Regions from separate parts of the Homo sapiens genome. Here all the other regions are linked to region 2. Evidence: promoter capture Hi-C in 16 types of primary human blood cells and fetal thymus (Javierre and others, 2016). All regions are on one chromosome and are shown on one strand. Each heading gives the region's core, a stretch centred on a gene start or on the middle of the fragment in contact. The rest is flanking DNA. Distances are from core to core; before and after follow the strand shown. Region 1 has its middle 4.2 kb from the start of SRSF12. Region 2 holds the start of RRAGD (Ras related GTP binding D). Region 3 has its middle 23 kb from the start of RNGTT.

What was found. The method cuts DNA at HindIII sites, captures the fragments that hold promoters and counts their contacts. A CHiCAGO score of 5 or more calls a contact.
Region 1: a contact is called between a fragment that was not itself captured here and the fragment with the promoter of RRAGD in region 2, in 1 of 17 cell types (fetal thymus). The highest score is 5.1, in fetal thymus.
Region 3: a contact is called between a fragment that was not itself captured here and the fragment with the promoter of RRAGD in region 2, in 5 of 17 cell types (neutrophils, fetal thymus, naive B cells and 2 more). The highest score is 9.1, in neutrophils.

The regions. Positions count from the first base shown.
Region 1 is chr6:89,120,458-89,124,009 of GRCh38, reverse strand. It overlaps a transcript of PM20D2 not described here. Among named protein-coding and RNA genes, the nearest start is that of SRSF12, 4.2 kb to the right of the region's middle. RefSeq lists an enhancer at 1,106-1,235. The HindIII fragment of the contact is 1,406 bases long and covers 1,538-2,943 here.
Region 2 is chr6:89,409,839-89,413,628 of GRCh38, reverse strand. RRAGD (Ras related GTP binding D) reads left to right here and starts at 1,356. Exons shown (of 7, transcript NM_021244.5): 1 at 1,356-1,783. The coding sequence starts at 1,636. RefSeq lists silencers at 940-2,129, 2,160-2,269, 2,300-2,399. The HindIII fragment of the contact is 2,415 bases long and covers 457-2,871 here.
Region 3 is chr6:88,984,785-88,988,745 of GRCh38, reverse strand. No RefSeq gene overlaps it. Among named protein-coding and RNA genes, the nearest start is that of RNGTT, 23 kb to the right of the region's middle. The HindIII fragment of the contact is 4,992 bases long and covers 1-3,961 here.

The DNA.
Region 1 (3,552 bases), core at 991-3,490, 290 kb after region 2:
GCTAGAGTGCAGTGGCACGAACACAGCTCACTTCAGTCTCAACCTCCTGGACTCAAGTGATCCTCCCACCTCAGCCTCCAGAGTAGCTGGGACTACAGGCACACTCCACCATGCCCAACTAATTTGTTTTTATTTTTACTAGAGATGAGTTATCATATGTTGCCCAGACTAGTCTTGAACTCCTGGCCTCAATCATCCTGCCTCAGCCTCCCAAAGCACGGGGATTACAGGCATGAGCCATTGTGCCTGGCTCTCCTTCTGTCTATAAACCTTTTTTTTTTTTTTTTTTTGAGACAGTCTCACTCTGTTGCCTAGGCTGGAGTGCAGTGGCACGATCTCAGCTCACTGCAACCTCCACCTCTTGGGTTCATGAGATTCTTGTGCTCCAGCCTCCTGAGTAGCTGGGACTACAGGCACACACCACCATGCCCAGCTAATTTGTTTTTATTTTTATTAGAGATGAGGTATCGTATGTTGCCCAGACTAGTCTCAAACTCCTGCCCTTATGCAATCCTCCTGTCTCAGCCTCCCAAAGCACTGAGATTACAGGCATGAGCAACTGTGCCTGGCTCTCCTTCTGTCCATAAAACTTTAAAAATTAATATTGGTGATAGAGCTTTCTTTTTAAATAAAAGTGAGCTAATTTAAAGTAAACATATTATGGTAAAGAAGTACATCATTATGGCAAAAATCTCACAGGATGGATGAAAACGACTTAAGTTTGGGAAACAATGGACTAGGTCCTTGAGAATTAAGGAGCATAACTTCTATTTTCATCCCCAGTTCCTAGCACTGTGCTTCACATACAATAGATCAACACTAAGCAAATGGCAAATTAATTAGAAAGAAACACCCCCCCAAGATTTTCAATACCCAACATCATTTTAGGGAATATACAGGAAAAGTGACAGGCCTTCTAAGTTGACTTTTCTGAAAAAGTTAGTTTGATCCCTCCTAGTTACATTATTATCACACAAATGACCTTTTTAAAAACATGATTTCTTATGGCTATAGCAGAAGAGATCAAATTCATAAAAGGATACAATCATAGATTCTCCAACTGATTGTGTGGAATGATGATGTCTTATAAACCAAAGTACATAGGTAATAGAAAAATGTTTACAATGTGTTCTATACAAATCCCCACATCACTCTTCATGGTTTGTTTTAAGAAAGGATAGGCCATGGCAGCTCTCACTAGAGGAAAGCTAGCACCATCTGTTGGAGAGTGAGTTCACAACATAAAATGATATTCTCTGTTGACTTCATTAATCCTGACACTGTTTCTTCAAGGTACTTTTTAATCACACAAATTTCAAGACACTAATACCTACCTAAATACAATTTAATTTTCAATTAGTTCTAGTTATCCACTATGACAGTAATAAACAAAACTAGTTAATTAATCTGATTAAGATATTAATCAGATGTATTGTTTAATGCAGTTAAAATATTAATCAGTCTTTTACTATTTGACTTCTTGATTAGACCTGATAATTAGCCCATTCTGAGCCATTTAAGAAATGGAAGAAAAGCTTATTCAACCACATACTCTATCAGATTGCTTTAGAATAACAAATATCGTATGTATTGCTCAACATTGTAAACCTGCCTCAACTTCTTGATTATCCATGGTAATTAGGAAGAAATAGTGACAGCCTTGAATTGTGAACTTTACTAATAACCCAAACTCTTCTCCCACAAATCTACTGATGATATTGAGAGGTTTGTGCTTCTCCTGTACCATTCAGAATAGATGTTTCTAAGAGACAAAAAGAATGTAAGAGATAGTCAGCTCAGACTATGTGCAGGTAGGTAGAGATAAGAGGAAAGTCCTAAGTGTTTAGATTCTAAATGACAGTAAGTTATTGTCATATCAGCAATTTCCCCAAAGACAGGATTCAGGAGTAAACAACCAAACATTATAAATAGATTCACATGTGGCTCTATTTTAAACACAACATAGACTACTAATTTTAAAGACTTGTAAAACTGAAAAGAGATTCTGAATTTTTCTTGCAATACACTTTATAAAACCGTGATTCCAATGAAAAAGTTTAAAATGTATTTACTTTTGAAAAGTCAGGTGATGATATCTAAATGAGATATGACACAGGTTTTCCTAAAATATTTTCAAATCAAAGTCTCTCTTAGGTGAAAACTTAAAAAGCATTTAATTGATCATAATTTTTTAAATGTATTAAATAAAAAGTAATGGAAGCAACAGTTACTTCGAAGAACAATATATGAAACTCTCATGTAAAAATGAGGCTTTTGTTATGGGAACAGTTGTCAGATTTGCCAGTGGTATACTCCTTGGGAATCCTCAGGCAATTTAAGAAAAACATTAACTCTCCTAAGCCTGGAGGGTACCATTTGGTGCCTTAAAGCAATGATTCAATAAAGCAATACTTTTGTTAAATGGCACTTAAGTTCTAGAACAAAGGGTAAATATGAATATGTTTATGAGTCCAGGGACAGGCAGGGTGTTTACTCTTGACCTAAGCCTTTCCCCTACCTCTTCAAGTATCCTAATCTGCCAAAGGGAAGACAAAATACAGCTTCATCAGTTACTCATCTCAACTGGTTTAAGGACCAGGGCAAGACACTGGCCAAGCTGACTGTAACATTCCTTAGTTGGCCGTGCCCGACGATGTTCTCTCCTTAGGCCTTCCAACCAGAAAACAGCTTTCTTACACTTTACACTAGCTGCCTCAAATCATATCTGGAAAAAAGAACATACGTTTTTATGTAATATAAATAATTATGGCTCCACAACTTATTTTATATCAATTCCAGCTACCTTTTAAGTTCAAGTTGCTAAGAGAAACTCCTTACACAGTTGAAGACCCTTTCCTCAGGTATTTCCATCAAAAGGAACAGAAAAAACACCCCCTATCCATACATGCATGCTAAGTATTTTTGGATACTCCTACAAAAGCTTTTTTCAAACTGTAAAGAGCTTTGTGGTTTTTTTCTATATTTATAAAAAGCATTAAAAAAATCTGACAATACTAAAAGATAAGAAGAAAGCAAGTATCAGAGTATAATACCTATACCTGAATAGGTAAAAATAGAATAGAAAAATTCTATTTATACATGAACATACAGATAAATTTATTTATTTATTTACAGACAGGGTCTTGCTCTGTCACTCATGCTGGAATGCAGTGCACTGGCACAAACATAGTTCACTGCAGCCTCCAACTCCTGGGCTCAAGCAATCCTCTTGCCTCAGCCACCTGAGCAGCTAGGACTACAAGCATGTGCCACCATGGTTGGCTAATTTTTTTTTTTTTAATTTTCTGTAGAGATGGGGAGATTCTCTTATGTTGCCCAGCTGGTCACGAACTTCTAGCTTGGAGCAATCTTCCCAACTTGGCCTCCCACAGCACCAGGATACAGGCATGAGTCACCACGCCTGGCCAATATATTTTTAACTAAATAGGTTAATCGTTTACATGTCTCATGAATTGATTTTTCTCCACTTAACAGTATGTCAGGGATGAGTAATTGTGACTACCCACCAGGTCAAGTTTCTTTTCTTTGGTC
Region 2 (3,790 bases), core at 107-2,606:
ATACTGCCTGCCTCCCTTGGAAAATCTCAGGACCTTTCCCATTAGAAGCAGCCACCTTCTGGAAAGTGTCTGCATCCACCTTCTGCACTCAGAAATACTAAAAAAAATCCAGGACATGAGTCATGATTTGGTAGACTGTGAGCTCCTTCAGGGCAGGAACACTGCCCTGAGCATTCTTGGACCCTCTACTTAGCCCAGCCTCAGGCATATAGGAGGTGGTTAATAAATGTTTCCTATGGAGGTTAGCACCCTTGGGCCCTGAGAGTCTCCTGCCCTAGCTTCCTCCCTCCGCTTCTGCACCGCACCACCGGCTGAGCTGCTGGCACCTGTAGGAGCTGGATCATCATGCTGACCGGCCGGTTTTTTCTTATTGTGCTCCACAGAAGGAAGTTCATCCACGTAATTTTTTGCAGTACCCAGAAAGGGTGGGTACAGTGTGTTCCGTGGTGAAAAGCTTGTGAAGGAGGAATGCAGGTTTTAGAGTCTCACTCCACGTTGCTGCTATTCCTATTTGAGAATTGCCCCCCCACCACCGCCACTCCCCTACTCCCACAAAAGCCTTGAAATATTTTATTCATGTGGGATTACAGTCTATGCAACAATGAGACATGAGGAGGTGGCCATGAATAGCCCCCGAGTGTGTTATACACTGAGACCTTTTCCAAAGGGCTGCAGAGGAATTATTTAGTCTAAGCAGCCACGAGTCATGTGATTTCTTCAGAAACATTTACGTCTGGGTAGGCCTGCTTTTTAAATATTCTTGGTGGGAAGCACTTTGAACCATAAAGGCACACTAAAAGACAATTGCTATGGAGACTGCGCCTCCACTGTGCATTTATCTGAGTTCTCCGCCTGGGGCTCTTGAGCGTCCACAGGGTGTCCTGGGCACGCTGCTCTGGGGTGGGGGATCTGGGCGCCACAGTGTTGGGAGGCCACCCGCTTGGGACCCTAGCTCAGGACTGTAAGCAGGAGGCATCCGCCCACGGTAGACGCTCTGCGGGCGTGTGGGAGTGGGACGGCGGGGGGGACATTGAGGGTGTGCGGCGCCCCCTCCCCTGCCTGTGCGGGGACCACGTGAAGGAGAGGCGCGTGGGGGCCCCTGGCGCGCAGCCGCGGTGGGTGACGGCCGGCGTCCCGGGGGCCCCGTGTACGGGGCGTGTGTCGGTGTGAGTCTGGGAGGGTGCAGGGGCCCCGCGCCTCCCCGGTCTCCTCGTGCGTGTGCGTGTGCGTGTGCATGTGTGTCCTCGGCCCAGCGCCCCGCCGAGTGGTGCCCGCGGCCGGGCGAGCGCGCGCGCGCCCGTGCGGGGTGTGTATGTGAGTATGTGACAGTGTGTGTCAGGTGACTCGGGTCACGCAGTCTCTCTCTCTCTCCCTCCTCCGGGAGGAACTGCCGCGCTCCGGCTGACTCCTCCGCCGGCGGGCGGGGCGGGGGAGGGGGCTTCGGGCGCGCTGGGAACCGCGGGACCCGGACCTGGGCGCCGCCCGCCGGGGGACGCGCGGCCCCCGCTTCCGCCGGGCCCCGCTGAGCTCTAGACAAACCTCCGCTTCAGAAATAGGCTGCGGGCGGCCGGCTAGGAGGCTTGGCCCCCACCCCGGGACCCCCGCCGTCCCCGGGCCGGCCGGCCGGTGGGCACGATGAGCCAGGTGCTGGGGAAGCCGCAGCCGCAGGACGAGGACGACGCGGAGGAGGAGGAGGAGGAGGATGAGCTGGTGGGGCTAGCGGACTACGGAGACGGGCCCGACTCCTCCGACGCCGATCCGGACAGCGGCACAGAGGAGGGAGGTGAGCGCCCGGCCCCCGCGTCCTCGGCTCGCGCCCCTTTCCTCCCCTTGGCGCCTTCCCGCCCCCAGCCCGGCCGTGCGCGAGCCACCGACTTGGAGGGGGTCCAGGGGAGCGGGTCCAGTTGAGGGTTTGGGGTGGGGAGGGACGCCAAAAGCCCGACCTCGAGCTGCCAAATGAGGGAGCGCGGTGCTGGTGGCGGAGGGGCAACCAGGATCGGTGGAAAAGGGGAAGGAGGGAGTAAGCGTCTGGGCTGGAGGAGCGCGCGCTTCTGCCCCTTTCAGAGCCGGTGCCTCCCGCGCCCCTCACCCCAAGCTCTCCGCAGCGTCTGGCGGTTGGGGAGGGGAGGGGACCGCGGGCGCGCCCTGGGACCTCTCTCCCAGAACGGTGCTGTTGAAGCCAGGGTCAGATGTCGTGGCTAAAAAAAGGCAGCCGGCGGCGGCGTGACTGGCAGGGTCGTCGGCAGCTGCGGGTGTCAGTCTCGCCCCGCGTCGCCGCGGGAGGGGCCCACCCAGGTAGTGGCTGGGGAGACCCGCGGGGCGGCGGGGGGATGCTCGCCAAGCTGTTGTGGGAGTCTCCGAGAGGCCGCAGATTTCCCGGGATCCACGCAAACACCGTTGTCAGGACACCTTATCTGCTCTCGGTATCACCACCTGGACATGGCAGTGCCTGCCCGGGAGTGAGCGCGCGGCGGGGAATTCTTTGCTTCAATAGTGAAGCAAACTCTTTTTCCTGTTCTAGAAGCGGGTTTTAGCAATCGTTCAGCTTGTGGGGGCTTCCTGCATTTTCTTAAGGTGTAAGGAAGTTGAGAGCCTTTTAGTATTCCAGAGAGGTTAAACTTTTTTTAGTTTCCCTCAGAAGCGAGCAAAAGTTCCTTTACTGTAAGGTCACTTGGAAAGGTCAATAGAAAGCGGCTGTTAAACATGATGTTATTCTCAGTGAAACTGTATGCATCCAAGAGAAGGAACTAACTTTAATGTTTCACACTGAAGAAATTGTGTGAGAGATACAAGTACCTTTGTGACTATTGATTTTTAAAGAACTTTTATTGAGAATTCACTGAACTTATTTTAAATTCTCTATGCAAAGCTTTTCTCACTAGGGTAGTTTCATTATTCTACATCTGGCAGGCACGACTTTCAATGAATCAGAAAGGAAATAAAGTTAACTATGCCTTGCGCCTGGTAGATGAGAAAGCAGCCTCTCAAGTCACCCTTTTTCATAGCGTTTTCTCTCTTGGGATGATTTGTGCTAATTCCTCATTTGCTTAAACTGATGTGTGCACCTTTGTGCTTTCTGTCTTCTGCACTCCCGGTAATTGGTCTTACCGTTGAGCACCAGGCCACATTTTTGTAGATAAAGGCTTTCAGCCGTTTTATTGGAGTCTCTAGAGCTACCTTCCGTAATTAAATTGTTCAGTCGCCTCATTATTATTCAAATTCCATTTGTTAGCTCCTCCCAGATTCTTAGAAGACTCCGGAGAGATGCAGAATAGGGATGTATTTGCAAGGTATTTGAAATGGTGGACACAGTAGGGTGTGTGTGGGATTCTCTTTTTTAAAAAAGAAAAAAAGTGGGGGGGCGGAGGGGCCATATCCAGGAGGGAAAGCCCTGTAATTTGATACTGTCCTGAGGCCTGGAGGGTCCAGAAAAAGTACTGGACCCCTCGTTTATTCTGCAGTTCTTTAAGTGGGCACTTTTAAAATTTGATTTGGGGACTTGAAATTGAAGTGAAATTAAAGCCCTGCTTGAGGGATGGGATTCCCGGAACAAAGGGCTTCCCCAGAGCCCAGACTTGGAGGCTCCTTAGCTGTTAACGTAAAGGCAAACTTGCCTGTAACTGATTTTTGGTGACTCGCATAATAAAATCCTTCTGAATGGGCTTTTGGGATCAGCTTGGGATCTTGCTATAAAAGGATTAAATATATTTATATTGTGAGAAGAGCAACATGTTTGCTCGGCAAACGTTGCTTAAGCCTGGTCTCTGTCCACCTGGGCCTGCAGTGGATA
Region 3 (3,961 bases), core at 750-3,249, 430 kb after region 2:
TCTACTAAAAATATGAAGATTAGCCAGGTGTGGTGGCATGTGCCTGTAATTCCAGCTTCTTGGGAGGCTGAGGCATGAGAATCGCTTGAACTCGGGAAGCAGAGGTTGCAGTGTGACAAGATCGCACCACTACACTCCAGCCTGGGCGACAGAGCGAGACTCCATCTCAAAAAAAAAAAAAAAAAAAAAGAGAGAGAGAGATTTTTAGTTGATTTATAGTGGCTAATCACATTTTTTAAAAAAGTATGATATAACATGATTTGTGAGCAAAATTAATGTTTTTATCTTCAGATTCAATGAATCTTCTGAGCAGCACACACACACATATGCTGGACATTCATTTTACTAATTATCTCATTAAAAAAAAAACAAAAATAAACATTTGTGGAGAAGCCCCATTTTGGCAGTCTGTGTTATAAGGACTGGAGATACGGCTGGGATGAAAACAGACAAAATCCTCTTTCTCTAGAAGGGAAAAATAGGCTATAACAATCACAGCAAACACAAAATGGTTTTTTTTCCATGTGCTTTACATGTATAAACTCATTTAGTTCTCCTAACCATCCCATGAAGTAGGTGCTATCATTATCTCCATTTTATAGGGGAGGGAACCAGTGCACAGAAAGGTTAAGTAACTTGATGAAGTTGCACAGCTAGTGAGCATTAGAGCTAGGATTTGAACCCAGGCATGTGGCTCCACAGGCTACACGCTTAACTGCTATGCTATTCTTTCTATAATTAGCTCCTCTATTCTATGTATTCTGGTGACACAAGGAACCAAAAGTTTTCCTTTTCCTTTCTCAAATATTTTCAGTTTTTGCTTCAGATATTTAACTATTTGAACGCTAGGGCCAGGTGTGGTGGCTCTTGTCTGTACTCCTAGCACTTTGGGAGGCCCAGATGGGAGGATGGCTTGAGCTCAGGAGTTTGAGGCCAGCCTGGGAAACATAGTGAGACCTTGTCTCTACAAAAAATTTAAAAAGCTAGCTGGGTGCATTGGCATGCACCTGTAGTCCCAGCTACTGGGGAAGCTGAGGTGGGAGGATCACTTAAGCCCAGGAGGTAGAGGCTGCAGTGAGCTGTGAATGAGCCACGGCGCTCCAGCCTGGGCGACAGGCAAGACCCTGTCTCAGAAAAAAAAAAAAAAAAATCCAGACACTTAAAATCACAGTTGCTCTTAAAAGCATAGCTTTGATTTAGATTGACCTGGAATAAGTTCCATGTCTGTCACTCAGTAGCTGTGTGATTATGAGCAAGTTTCTAAATCTCACTAAAGTTCTCTTTCCTCATTAGTAAATGAAAATAATCGTTTACCTCCTAAGGCTGTTGTGAGAATTGAGGATAATATGCATGAAAATCATTTGATCCTGGCACAAAGTAAGTGCCCAATGAATGGTTACTTTTATCCAGTCATACATTCATTCAATCAGCAAATATTTGTTGAGCATCTGCTATGTTCCAGGTATTGTTCTAGGTACCGGGGATATAGCAGTGAGTAAAACAGACAAAGATCTTGCTCTCAAAGCAATTCCATGGCTTTTTAGCCTTAATAAAATGTGCTTAATCTTATTAAATTTGTTTATATTAATTAAATTGTAGTTTAAATTTCTATTTATTTTTTAATTAAATTGTGTGGTATATAGTTATTTAAATGCATTTAATATTATTTTTAAAGCATTAGTAAAGTTTGTTTAATCAGTTATTCCCTCTTTTCTCCACTGGCTTTTTGTCATAGTCACTTAAATGTAATCAAATTTCTTTTATATTTATTTCTTTTCTTTTTTTTTTTTTTTGAGATGGAGTTTCGCTCTTGTTGCCCAGGCTGGAGTGCAATAGCATGATCTCGGCTCACCACAACCTCCGCCTCCTGGGTTCAGGCGATTCTCCTGCCTCAGCCTCCCGAGTAGCTGGGATTACAGGCATGCGCCACCATGCCTGGCTAATTTTGTATTTTTAGTAGAGATGGGGTTTCTCCATGTTGGTCAGGCTGGTCGTGAGCTCCCAACCTCAGGTGATCCACCCGCTTTGGCTTCCCAAAGTCCTGGGATTACAGGTGTGAGCCACTGCACCTGACTTATTTCTTTTATTTATTTATTTTTGTTTTTTAATAGAGACAGGGTCTCGCCATGTTGCTCAGGCTGGTCTAGAACTCTTGAGCTCAAGCAGTCCTCCTGCCTCAGCCTCCCAAAGTGCTGAGATTACAGGCATGAGACACCATGCCTGGCCACATTTCTTTTATATTAAAAAATCCCTGAATCAACCCTTTGACTTCAAGTTAGCTGACAGTGGCTGCTTTAGTTCCTTGCTCCCTTTGCTATAGATATTATCTCACTCACTGTCTCCACTCTCTAGGTTGACTTCATGACTTCTCATTCATACTCCAGAGCACTGGAAGCAGTCTCTTGTTTCTTGTGGAGAGGTCACGTTATGGCAGGCTGTGTTCTAAGGACTGGAGATATGGCTGGGATGAAAACAGACAAAATCCTCTTTCTCTAGAAGGGAAAAATAGGCTATTGCTGTAAACAATAGGTATCACTCTCAACAAGGTCACCCCCTTCCTTAAAACCATTCAATGACTCCATATTTACCTCAGTGACTCATGTTTACTTGATGAAGTTGCACAGCCCCAGATAAAGTCCAAACTCTTTAAAGTGGCATGTGGGCATGTTCCCTCCCTCCCTAGCCTTCCCTCCCACCATTCCCTTTTCTACCTCCACTCCCTCCCCTGCTCACTGCCCCAAACACACACACACACACAGTTCCCATTCTATAGATGGGCTTGACATTGCCCAGAAGTACCATACTTTTATCTGTAAGCAGTGGTGTTCTAGAGTTGATTTGTGTGGGAGTGTGAGAGCGTATGGTGCATGTCTCTTCCCAATTGCATGTTCAGTGAGGTCATGGTGGGAGTAAATCAAGGAAACTGGCAAAATCTACAAATTAGGGCATTCTTGCTTCTCTCTAGAGAGTTATTAAACATTTACCAGCTCACCATAGCCCCTAGGCCTTTGCATTTATGGCCCTTCCCCTACCCTAACTTGGCCCAGCTTAAATGTCCCTTCCTCCTGGGAACTGTGTTTTGACTCTTCAGGATTGGGATAGATACCCTTCACTGTGATTCTTTGGTAACTTGGGCAGCGGCCCCACTATTTTTCCCGTATTCTATACTGGCCAAGTAAAGTCCTTGAGGTCAGGGCCCTTGTCTTGTTCATTGTTGTTCTTGTCTACCTAGGATAGTGTTTGGCACATAGCAAGGTGCTAAACTATATTTTTAAGTGAACCAATACATGAATAATTAAAGTAAGCCCTCCCTACTAATAATAGGCTTTTTATGGTTCAAGAATGTGCCTTAATCTTTGTATCTCCTGAAATTCCTCACACAGAGAAAGTTTAGTAGATGTTTGAATAGATTGAATGGACTAGACTTGAATGTGCTTTATATGAGCCTAAAACTAGGGCCCAATTTAAGATATCCATTCTAGAAGTGAGTCAATGATATTTGAGATTATGATTCTATAGAACCAAAACCTGGAGTATTGAAATATGTCACCAGAAACTTAAGATTTTCCCTGGCCATTAATTTGCCTTGATTTATTACTCTTATTTCCTTGTTTTTTCTAAGGTGATCCCAAGCTCGTTCCACTTCCTTCTTCCCTCAACCTGGCTTTTCTTTTTGAGACAGGTTCTCACTCTGTCACCCAGGCTGGAGTACAGTGGCGTGATCTTGGTGTGCGCCACCATGCCCAGCTAATTTTTGTATTTTTTTGTAGAGATGCGTTTCGCCATGTTGCCCAGGCGGGTCTGTGACTCCTGGACTCAGCCAATCTACCCACCTTGGCCTCCCAAAGTGCTGGGATTACAGGCATGAGGCACCACGCCTAGCCACCCTATTTTTAATGTACAACTTAGGCATGCTCTTTGCTCACAAAATGATACGCTCATTGAACCATGAGTAGGAAAG